3 separate regions of the Homo sapiens genome follow, and regions 2 and 3 are each linked to region 1. Evidence: promoter capture Hi-C in 16 types of primary human blood cells and fetal thymus (Javierre and others, 2016). All regions are on one chromosome and are shown on one strand. Each heading gives the region's core, a stretch centred on a gene start or on the middle of the fragment in contact. The rest is flanking DNA. Distances are from core to core; before and after follow the strand shown.

Region 1 (3,552 bases), core at 534-3,033:
CTCATCTCCATATCAGAGGATAGCTCCAGGCATTCGAATGCTCTGCTGCCTGTACCAAAGCAGAAAGGCTATATCCTCCAGTCTCAGCACAGCAAACTGATGCCCTTTCTCTTCATGCCCCACCCACTCACACAAACCGCCCCAGTCCTGAGGAAGCTGGAGAGTCTGCCCTAGGCCCGCCCTCTCTGAGAGACTGTCTGGGAAGCAGTGTTGCCATAGCAATCAGCTCCTCCTCAAAAGGCTTCAGCCTGCCCTTTTTTACCCCACCCTACCCCAGGGCTTTGTCTGTCCTCAGCAGACCCACCCCCCTCCCCAGCCAGTCTCTCAGCTCCTGGGTGGTTGTGTGAGGAGGCTGGCTTGGGGCCCCTTTTAGCAACACTGTCACACTCATTTAGCCACTGTGTGGAACTCAAGCCTTTCCCACCCTCTCCCAGCCAGCCCAGGGGCAAAAAGAACTCTAGCACTCCATCAAATCCCCTCAGGGAAGCAGAGGAGCCCTCAAGAGAACTAGGTCCTAGCCTGTTCTGATAGTGCTTCCAAGCCTGGAGTGTGGGGAGCCACTCCCTCTTCCTCCCCTAGCTGTGGCTGGAACCTCACAACCCTTACTGGGTTCAGCTTACAGTCGTGGCCCACCTCTCAAAACAGACAGAAGACCCTCAATACTCCTCACCACTTCCCCCCTCCCACAGAAGCCCTAGCGTTCCCTACCCAGAAGGATAAGGGTGGGGAAAATCTGTTTGTGGCAAGTGGTTAAATGTGGCTACCAGTCACTTGGGGATCTATGCGAGAGACCTGGGTGGTAGTGGTGGGGGTGGGGTCTGAGCCCTGCCGCTGGTTACCAGGGTCTCTGGTCATTGATAACAAAGTACCGGGCAGGGCACAGCTCCTAGATGGGCAAGGGCCAGGCCAGGCCCTGGGGCAAGGAAGGAAGTGGGAAATGAGCACACCCAGAGCATAAGGGCAGGGCGGGGGAGGGGGGAGACAGAGACCAAGGCCGGCTCTGGGAGGAACAGGAACTAGGATGGGGGGTTGACAGGAACCCAGCGGGGGAAGGGTCCCCCGGGACCTCAGCTTAGGGAAGAAACCCCAGTCTCAGCTGGACAGATCCAAAATAGACTGAGGAGACATTCACACAAGCCCTAGTGACAAGCAGGGTCTGACTCCTCTCTGAGTGCCCAGGCCAGAAGGCGGAGTTAAAAGCTGAGCAGACAGGAGTGCAATAGATTGGCCTCTTCACCCCACTAACCCCAACACCCTTGCTCTTAGAACCCAGAACACAAGTGTCTTCCTGTAGTTACTACAATGCCCTAAACTGTTACTTTGTCAAAGTACTGGGGGTTCTGTTCTCCTGCCTCAAGTTGGGCCTACAACCCCTTCCCCTAGATAGTGCCCGCAGACCCTCCGACACCGCTACACTCCTTCTCCATTAAACAGCCCCCCTTCCTTCAAAGCACCTCCATGTCCCCTGCCCCTCATGTACCTCCTCCAACCCCCCACATCAGACAGAGACAGCCCCCTCACAATGTACCTCGCAACCCCCCCACAACAAAGCGCTCCCGCCCTTCCCCCATAGAGGCCTCTGGAGAATGCACCTTGTTGCCCACACATTGAGTCCCCAACTGCTCCCGCGACTTCGTATCTTCCCTCAACACACAGCAGTCTCCAGATCGTCTGCAAAGCGCACCCCCATCCGCGTCCCTTCTTCCACGCTCACCCTGCCCCACACCTGTAGTTCCGTGGGTCCCGTTGCACTTGGGGACGTGGTAGTGGTTGGGGCAGTTACTGAGCAGCCCTAGCTGTAGCCTCCGCCTGCAAACCTCGCCCCTTCAGTCTGAGCCCCGCCCCCGCAACGCCCGGGCCCACCCTCTCCCTTGTCCCACCTTCCACCTTCTGTGGACTTGTCCCTTTCCTCGTTTAATTTCTCGAGCTCCTCCCCTGTAGCCCGGGCCCCGCCCCCTTCTGACCTCGCACCTCCTTCGCGTTTTCTTTGCATTTCCCCAGGATCCTCAGCTTTTCCCAGGCCCCACCCCCGATCCCCGCCTCCTCTCGGTCTCTCCGCCTTTCACCAGGACCCGCCCCCTCGGATTCCAGCCTGGCAGAAGTCGCGCCAAGACCCTTCCACCACGATCCCCCTCCCATCTCAGAGCCCCTCCTCCTTCCGCCCCTTCTCCCTCACGCCTCACCCGGGCGGTCGCACTCCAACCAGGATCCGCTGGCTCTGATTGGCGGTGGCGGCCCCAAAGGAGGAAGGAGGAGACAAAGTGATGGTCGCAGGTCGCCTGAGGTCCCACCCCGGCCACGTGCGGCTTCTGTGATGACAAGTCTAGAGGGGCGGGGCCTCGGCCGGCAGGCTGCTAGCCTGAGCGGAGCGGATCAGGGCAGAGGTGGGGAGATGGAGCCAGGGCCAAAGCCACCAGCCTGAGGGCTCTGAGCCGGGTTGGGGCTATCTCGCTGCTTTCGCACCGGTGTGAGCTGCCGCCGGAACTCTAACCTCTTTGTAGGGATGTCTGGGTGGGCGCGTGCATTTGCACTAATAGGGGAGGTCCGTAGGGATTGCAAGGTAGTGCAAGGAATCTCAGGGGTCTGTGAAAATGAGGGAATCTGGGCGGTGGGGTTCAGGTCTGCGAGGTTGAGCAGTTTCTGAAGCCTACGCTGTGCAGGCGGGTGTGGGTTCTGGGATGGGATGGACAGTAGGAGTCAGATCAGTACCTACTGAGGCAGGTCAGCGAGATCTGTGAATTTTACGAGATGAGTGTTGATATGGAGTTAGGAGGGCCTGCAATTGCTGGAGAAAAGTGAGGCCTTTCCCTTGTACAGGTGTCTAATGAACTGCATGACAGTTACATATGTTCTGCAGTTTAAGCGGCGCCCTCTCCAACCTCTCCCCAGGAGATACAATAAGGGAGGGCGACGCTTCCCAGACACCGGTAGATGGCAGCACAGGACACTTGCAGAACTGAGACAGCCCAGCTCAGCGCCGATCTGTGGCCTCTCCGAGGAGCGGACCGTTTGGGTCTGGATTTGATCAAGTTCTACAAAAGTCACATTCTTTTTTATTTTTTTTTGAGACGGCGTCTCGCTCTTTCGCCCAAACTGGAGTGCAGTGGTGCGATCTCGGCTCACTGCAACCTCCGCCTACTGGGTTCAAGCAATTCTCCTGCCTCAGCCTTCAGAGTAGCTGGGATTACAAGCGCGCGCCACCAGGCCGGGCTAATTTTCGTATTTTTGGTAGAGACAGGTTTCACCATGTTGGCCAGGCTGGTCTCAAATTCCTGACCTCAAGCGATCCGCCCGCCTCGGCTGCCCAAAGTGTTGGGATTACTGGCGTGAGCCACAGCACCCGGCCAAATCTCAGATTCTTTAGGCTCTGTGACTTTGTCAGTAGTTAACTTAAACTGGTTTACTCAACGTCAGTGGTGTGGAAGCGCAAAAAAAAGAAAGAAAAAAGTATTTTCTCTGGCCATAAGGAACTTATTATTTAGACAGTGATACAAATGCCTACATAATCCCAGAAGGGTAAACTAAGAAAGGTTTTGGGTAGTGGGAAAACCA
Region 2 (3,552 bases), core at 426-2,925, 710 kb after region 1:
GGCTTCAAGTGACTCTCCTGCCTCAGCCTCCTGAGTAGCTGGGACTACAGGTGCGTGCCACCATGCCTGGCTAAATTTTTTGTATTTATTTATTTATTTTTTAGTAGAGACGGTGTTTCACTGTGTTAGCCAGGATGGTCTCGATCTCCTGACCTTTGATCCACCCGCCTCCGCCTCCCAAAGTGCTGGGATTACAGGGGTGAGCCACCGTGCCCAGCCACATGCTCTCTCTCATACTTCCCAAGACATGACAGAGTACAGTTATTCCTCCACACTCGAGAGGGGCTGGTCAGTTCTCCCCTACCTGAGATGATCCGGTGCTCTCTCAACAAGTGTCCACAAAAGCATCTGGACTCATCCCCAATCCGGAAACAGTCCCATAGGTAATGGGGGCAGCGCCAGCCAATGTAGAGACCTAGGTATGCAGGATTAAAAGTGAGAAGTAAAAAAATTCTAAGCTCCCCCGAAGTGTTCTTACCTATCCCTTGATGGAGGTGAGGGGGTGGGGGGAACTTACCTCTCCCCACCCCCAGGTATCTTTATCTCCACCTGGAAGTCCTCACCTCTACCCCTTAGATTTTCTTTTTCCTCAGGGTTTTCTCATTACCCCAGAAGTGTCTTCAGTTCTCTTCCTACCCAGGATCTACTCCATCTTTGTCAGCCTGCCAGAGATGACTCAAGAGAGTGGTTTCTGAGCAGGAAGATTATAGATGAAATTTTGTTTGAGGATGAACATGAATCTCACTGAGTTCTCTGTGACCACAGGGATTCTCATCTCCTCTCCTCATCCCACTAAAGCCCAACTTTGCTTTGTTTTCTTGAAGTGTCTAAGGTGAGGGAAAGGGAAGATGATTGGCCAGATGTACAGACAATGGGATTGGCTCCTAAGGAGCATATTTATTGAAGGTCCTGAAGAGGAGAAGGAGGTTGGATAGCTCTGGTGCTGGAAGGTAGGAGGAGGGCTTCCTCTCACGTCTCCACGTTGGTACCTTAATACCTCCCTCTGTGTTCCTGGTGCTATTGTACCAATGCTCTCTGTGTACCTAAGAAGGGCTGCCAAAGGTTCTTCAAGGGTCAGGAGAAAGGGGTAGGTAGCAGTCATGAGTGGTGAAGACCAAAAATTATATATTTTGAGGCTAAGCAAGGAGGCGTGGAAAGGAAAGTGAGGCTAAGAAGTGTCCCTGAGAGTAGGCACCAGCAAGAGGTCACAACCCTCGAGAGCTGGTGTTCAGCAGTGAGGTCTGAATCCCTGGCTTCGTGACTAGTCTTGAGGTGAGGGTGGTGCTGTGCAACTGAGGGAGGATAACCAGATGGCACCTCCAATTCAGATTTTCTCATTCTCCATGAGAACTGAGAGTACCCCAACTTCTAGCCAAGAATCCTGTATGAGGCCCCATGCAGTGGGACTGCCAGGTGTAGGATTCTTAGTCCCAATTAAAGGCTCAACTGAAATGTCACCTCCACCAAAAAGGTGTCCCTGACTTCCCCTGTCTGTCTGGGCCCCTCCTATTGCCATCCATAGCTCCTTGTGCTACTCCTGTTGCAGTACACTGCATTATAATAGATCATTCCCTTGTATTCCTATTAGTCCATGAGTTCTTCAAGGGAGCTGTCTTTTCACCCGTATCTCTCATCCTAGCACAAGGCCTGGCACAAAATGGTTGCTGAGAGAACGTAGATTGCCTGATTAAACAATTGAGCTCATTCCTTCAAGAGGAAGAGAGAGCCAGTATTCAGGCATAACCCTGAGGTTCCATAACATGAATAAGGAGAGTGGCATCATCTGGTCTTTGACTGTGGTCAGGGCCACAATTCACAATTCCGTGCCTCAGATTAAGTTTTCTTGTCTTACCCATAGTCTGTCAGGATCTAAAGCCTGTCTAGATGTGGCTTTTGGCTTTGCTTCTTCTGTCTTGATGCTGATTGCCTGTAGTGCCAGTGCCCCCTTACACCAGGGAGGCTTTGTTGAGAGAGCAAGGTATAGGCAGTCACAATGCAGGTGGGCGGGAGCCAGGATTCCACTAGAGGAGTTCCGAATTCTGTCTGGAGTAGCAGGATACATTAAAAAAGCAGGAGGTGAGGCCCAAAGATCAAGGCCTGCTCGGAGGGCCGGGGGGCAGTCAAGTCCAAGCACTAGTGTAGGAATCAGTGCCCAGCATTCAGATGAAGAAGACTGGAGTTTGAACAGGGAGACTGGCAACTATACTTCAGATTCTGTTACAAGTGTTAGTGCTCTTAAAGTGGGACAATTGGAAGGTGGCTGTGGATTCCAGTGGGACCCTCTACTCTCTGTCCTGATTCCAAACTCCCTTCCTGTTGTGGGTGGACAAGGCCTGGCGGGGGAGGAGACATTATTTGGGATGCCATTTTGATTCTGTCTAACACAGTCCAGTTCCACAATCACATAATCACATTTGCATGATGACATCTCTTTATGCATAGTATGTCTCCATAAAACACATGGCTGTCTTTACAGGAACAATGTCTCCAGCCTAGCCCTCTCTCCTGAGCTTCAGACCCATATAGCCAGCTGTCTACTAGACTCTTGGGCCAGCATGTTTCATAAGCACTTCAAATGTCTTATGCCCAATTATTCCCTCCAAACCTGGCTCTCATCCTTTGTCCTCTGTTCATCCAACACATGCCTACCAAGCATCTACCCTTTTCTAGGCATTCAGTTAATGGCACCATTATCCTACCACTTACTTATGCCAAAAACTGGTGGCACTCCAGGCATTTCCCTCTCTCTTATCCTATACATCCACTGTTCCAATGGTCAGTTTCACTTTGTTAGCTTTTCTTTTCTTTTCCCTACTTTTCTTGTTTCTTTTCTTTCTTTTTTGACAGAGTCTCGCTCTGTTGCCTAGGCTGGAGTGCAGTGGTGCAACCTCGGCTCACTGCAACCTCCACCTCCTGGGTTCAAGCAATTCTCCTGCCTCAGCCTCCCAAGTAGCTGGGATTACAGGTGTCCGCCACCACACCCGGCTAATTTTTTGTATTTTTAATAGAGACGGGGTTTCACCATGTTGTCCAGGCTGGTCTCGAGCTCCTAGCCTCAGGTGATCCACCCCTTGGCCTCCCAAAGTGCTGGGATTACAGGTGGTAGCCGCTGCGCTCGGCCTGTTAGCATTTCTTGAACCTGTCCACTTCTCTCCACCTAAGCCCATCTACTTCTTTCCTGGTTATGACCAGTGCCTCACAATGTATTCACTTGCCTTTCCATACCTCCTCTCTTAGCCTCACAACTCCAGTCTTGTCTTTCTCCAGTCTACCCTATTGCCAGAGTGATCTTGCAGAAACAGAAATTCGTTCATGTTATTGTCCTACTTAAAACCTTCTAGTGACTCTCAGTTGCCCTCAGGATATAATTCTAGCTTTTAACTTGGCACAGAAATTCCTGCACAATTCTGCCCTTCTAGAGCAGAGTGGGCTCTTCTCCCCACCACTCTATGCATCAGGCATAGTGCATTGCTATAGATTCCTGCTGTGCCTTGCCCTGTCATGTCTCATCTTACAGCACTCTTTACTTGGCCACCTCTTCTTACTCATCTT
Region 3 (3,552 bases), core at 648-3,147, 560 kb after region 1:
CGCTTGGAAGAAATCGCTGAGGAAGGTCAGTTTGTTGGTCTGGCCACTAATCTCTGTGGCCTAGTTCATAAAGAATCACCCTTTGGAGCTTCAGGTCTGAGGCTGGAGATGGGCTCCCTCCAGTGCAGGAGGGATTGAAGCATGAGCCAGCGCTCATCTTGATAATAACCATGAAGCTGACAGACACAGTTACCCGCAAACGGCTGCCTACAGATTGAAAACCAAGCAAAAACCGCCGGGCACGGTGGCTCACGCCTGTAATCCCAGCACTTTGGGAGGCCAAGGCAGGTGGATCACGAGGTCAAGAGATCAAGACCATCCTGGCCAACATGGTGAAACCCCATCTCTACTAAAAATACGAAAAAATAGCCAGGCGTGGTGGCGGGTGCCTGTAATCCCAGCTACTCGGGAGGCTGAGGCAGGAGAATGGCATGAACCCGGGAGGCAGAAGTTGCAGTGAGCCGAGATCGTGCCACTGCACTCCAGCCTGGGCAACAGAGCGAGACTCTTGTCTCAAAAAAAAAAAAAAAAAAGAAAACCAAGCAAAAACCAAAATGAGACAAAAAAAACAAGACCAAAAAATGGTGTTTGGAATTGTCAAGGTCAAGTCTGGAGAGCTAAACTTTTTCTGAGAACTGTTTATCTTTAATAAGCATCAAATATTTTAACTTTGTAAATACTTTTGTTGGAAATCGTTCTCTTCTTAGTCACTCTTGGGTCATTTTAAATCTCACTTACTCTACTAGACCTTTTAGGTTTCTGCTAGACTAGGTAGAACTCTGCCTTTGCATTTCTTGTGTCTGTTTTGTATAGTTATCAATATTCATATTTATTTACAAGTTATTCAGATCATTTTTTCTTTTCTTTTCTTTTTTTTTTTTTTTACATCTTTAGTAGAGACAGGGTTTCACCATATTGGCCAGGCTGCTCTCAAACTCCTGACCTTGTGATCCACCAGCCTCGGCCTCCCAAAGTGCTGGGATTCATTTTTTCTTTTTAATTTGCTCTGGGCTTAAACTTGTGGCCCAGCACTTTATGATGGTACACAGAGTTAAGAGTGTAGACTCAGACGGTCTTTCTTCTTTCCTTCTCTTCCTTCCTCCCTTCCCTCCCACCTTCCCTTCTCTCCTTCCTTTCTTTCTTCCTCTCTTGCTTCCTCAGGCCTCTTCCAGTTGCTCCAAAGCCCTGTACTTTTTTTTGAGTTACGTCTTATGGGAAGGGCCTGCACTTAGCGAAGAAGTGGTCTCAGAGTTGAGTTACCTTGGCTTCTGGGAGGTGAAACTGTATCCCTATACCCTGAAGCTTTAAGGGGGTGCAATGTAGATGAGACCCCAACATAGATCCTCTTCACAGGCTCAGAGACTCAGGTCCCAGGACTGGACATATCTGCACTCCTGCCCTCTGACTTCAGCCGCTACTTCCAATATGAGGGGTCTCTGACTACACCGCCCTGTGCCCAGGGTGTCATCTGGACTGTGTTTAACCAGACAGTGATGCTGAGTGCTAAGCAGGTGGGCCTGGGGTGTGTGTGGACACAGTGGGTGCGGGGGAAAGAGGATGTAAGATGAGATGAGAAACAGGAGAAGAAAGAAATCAAGGCTGGGCTCTGTGGCTTACGCCTATAATCCCACCACGTTGGGAGGCTGAGGTGGGAGAATGGTTTGAGCCCAGGAGTTCAAGACAAGGCGGGGCAACATAGTGTGACCCCATCTCTACCAAAAAAACCCCAACAAAACCAAAAATAGCCGGGCATGGTGGTATGCGCCTAGTCCCAGCTACTCAAGGAGGCTGAGGTGGGAAGATCGCTTGATTCCAGGAGTTTGAGACTGCAGTGAGCTATGATCCCACCACTGCCTACCATCTTTAGGATACATTTATTTATTTATAAAAGAAATCAAGAGGCTGGATGGGGAATACAGGAGCTGGAGGGTGGAGCCCTGAGGTGCTGGTTGTGAGCTGGCCTGGGACCCTTGTTTCCTGTCATGCCATGAACCCACCCACACTGTCCACTGACCTCCCTAGCTCCACACCCTCTCTGACACCCTGTGGGGACCTGGTGACTCTCGGCTACAGCTGAACTTCCGAGCGACGCAGCCTTTGAATGGGCGAGTGATTGAGGCCTCCTTCCCTGCTGGAGTGGACAGCAGTCCTCGGGCTGCTGAGCCAGGTACAGCTTTGTCTGGTTTCCCCCCAGCCAGTAGTCCCTTATCCTCCCATGTGTGTGCCAGTGTCTGTCATTGGTGGTCACAGCCCGCCTCTCACATCTCCTTTTTCTCTCCAGTCCAGCTGAATTCCTGCCTGGCTGCTGGTGAGTCTGCCCCTCCTCTTGGTCCTGATGCCAGGAGACTCCTCAGCACCATTCAGCCCCAGGGCTGCTCAGGACCGCCTCTGCTCCCTCTCCTTTTCTGCAGAACAGACCCCAACCCCAATATTAGAGAGGCAGATCATGGTGGGGATTCCCCCATTGTCCCCAGAGGCTAATTGATTAGAATGAAGCTTGAGAAATCTCCCAGCATCCCTCTCGCAAAACAATCCCCCCCCTTTTTTTAAAGATAGGGTCTCACTCTGTTGCCCAGGCTGGGGTGTTGTGGCACGATCATAGCTCACTGCAGCCTCGAACTCCTAGGCTCAGGCAATCCTTTCACCTTAGCTTCTCAAAGCACTGGGACTGTAGGCATGAGCCACTGTGCCTGGCCCCAAACGGCCCTTTTACTTGGCTTTTAGGAAGCAAAAACGGTGCTTATCTTACCCCTTCTCGTGTATCCACCCTCATCCCTTGGCTGGCCTCTTCTGGAGACTGAGGCACTAGGGGCTGCCTGAGAACTCGGGGCAGGGGTGGTGGAGTGCACTGAGGCAGGTGTTGAGGAACTCTGCAGACCCCTCTTCCTTCCCAAAGCAGCCCTCTCTGCTCTCCATCGCAGGTGACATCCTAGCCCTGGTTTTTGGCCTCCTTTTTGCTGTCACCAGCGTCGCGTTCCTTGTGCAGATGAGAAGGCAGCACAGGTATTACACTGACCCTTTCTTCAGGCACAAGCTTCCCCCACCCTTGTGGAGTCACTTCATGCAAAGCGCATGCAAATGAGCTGCTCCTGGGCCAGTTTTCTGATTAGCCTTTCCTGTTGTGTACACACAGAAGGGGAACCAAAGGGGGTGTGAGCTACCGCCCAGCAGAGGTAGCCGAGACTGGAGCCTAGAGGCTGGATCTTGGAGAATGTGAGAAGCCAGCCAGAGGCATCTGAGGGGGAGCCGGTAACTGTCCTGTCCTGCTCATTATGCCACTTCCTTTTAACTGCCAAGAAATTTTTTAAAATAAATATTTATAATAAAATATGTGTTAGTCACCTTTGTTCCCCAAATCAGAAGGATGGTATTTGAATTTCCTATTACTGTTATTAGCACGAATTTAGTGGTAATGCATTTATTCTATTACAGTTCGGAGGTCAGCAGTCAGATGTCAGTAGGGCTTGTTCCTCCTTCCACACATCACTCCAATCTCTTGCTCCCATTGTCACAACTCCTACCTCCACATTTGACCTCCTTGTCTCCTCAAGA

What was found. The method cuts DNA at HindIII sites, captures the fragments that hold promoters and counts their contacts. A CHiCAGO score of 5 or more calls a contact.
Region 2: a fragment that was not itself captured here is called in contact with the fragment with the promoter of ATOSB in region 1 in 2 of 17 cell types (neutrophils and total CD8 T cells); the score reaches 5.9 in neutrophils.
Region 3: a fragment that was not itself captured here is called in contact with the fragment with the promoter of ATOSB in region 1 in 1 of 17 cell types (neutrophils); the score reaches 5.4 in neutrophils.

Annotation. Positions count from the first base shown.
Region 1 is chr9:35,114,079-35,117,630 of GRCh38, forward strand. ATOSB (atos homolog B) reads right to left here and starts at 1,784. Exons shown (of 9, transcript NM_025182.4): 1 at 1,727-1,784. RefSeq lists an enhancer at 1-595 and a silencer at 1,929-1,988. The HindIII fragment of the contact is 12,182 bases long and covers 1-3,552 here.
Region 2 is chr9:35,819,586-35,823,137 of GRCh38, forward strand. It overlaps FAM221B (family with sequence similarity 221 member B), which reads right to left. Exons shown (of 7, transcript NM_001012446.4): 4 at 305-415. Among named protein-coding and RNA genes, the nearest start is that of HINT2, 6.3 kb to the left of the region's middle. The HindIII fragment of the contact is 6,407 bases long and covers 1-3,552 here.
Region 3 is chr9:35,677,832-35,681,383 of GRCh38, forward strand. CA9 (carbonic anhydrase 9) reads left to right here. Exons shown (of 11, transcript NM_001216.3): 6 at 1-25; 7 at 1,354-1,511; 8 at 2,023-2,167; 9 at 2,282-2,308; 10 at 2,922-3,003; 11 at 3,134-3,328. The coding sequence ends at 3,194. Among named protein-coding and RNA genes, the nearest start is that of CA9, 5.7 kb to the left of the region's middle. The HindIII fragment of the contact is 1,194 bases long and covers 1,301-2,494 here.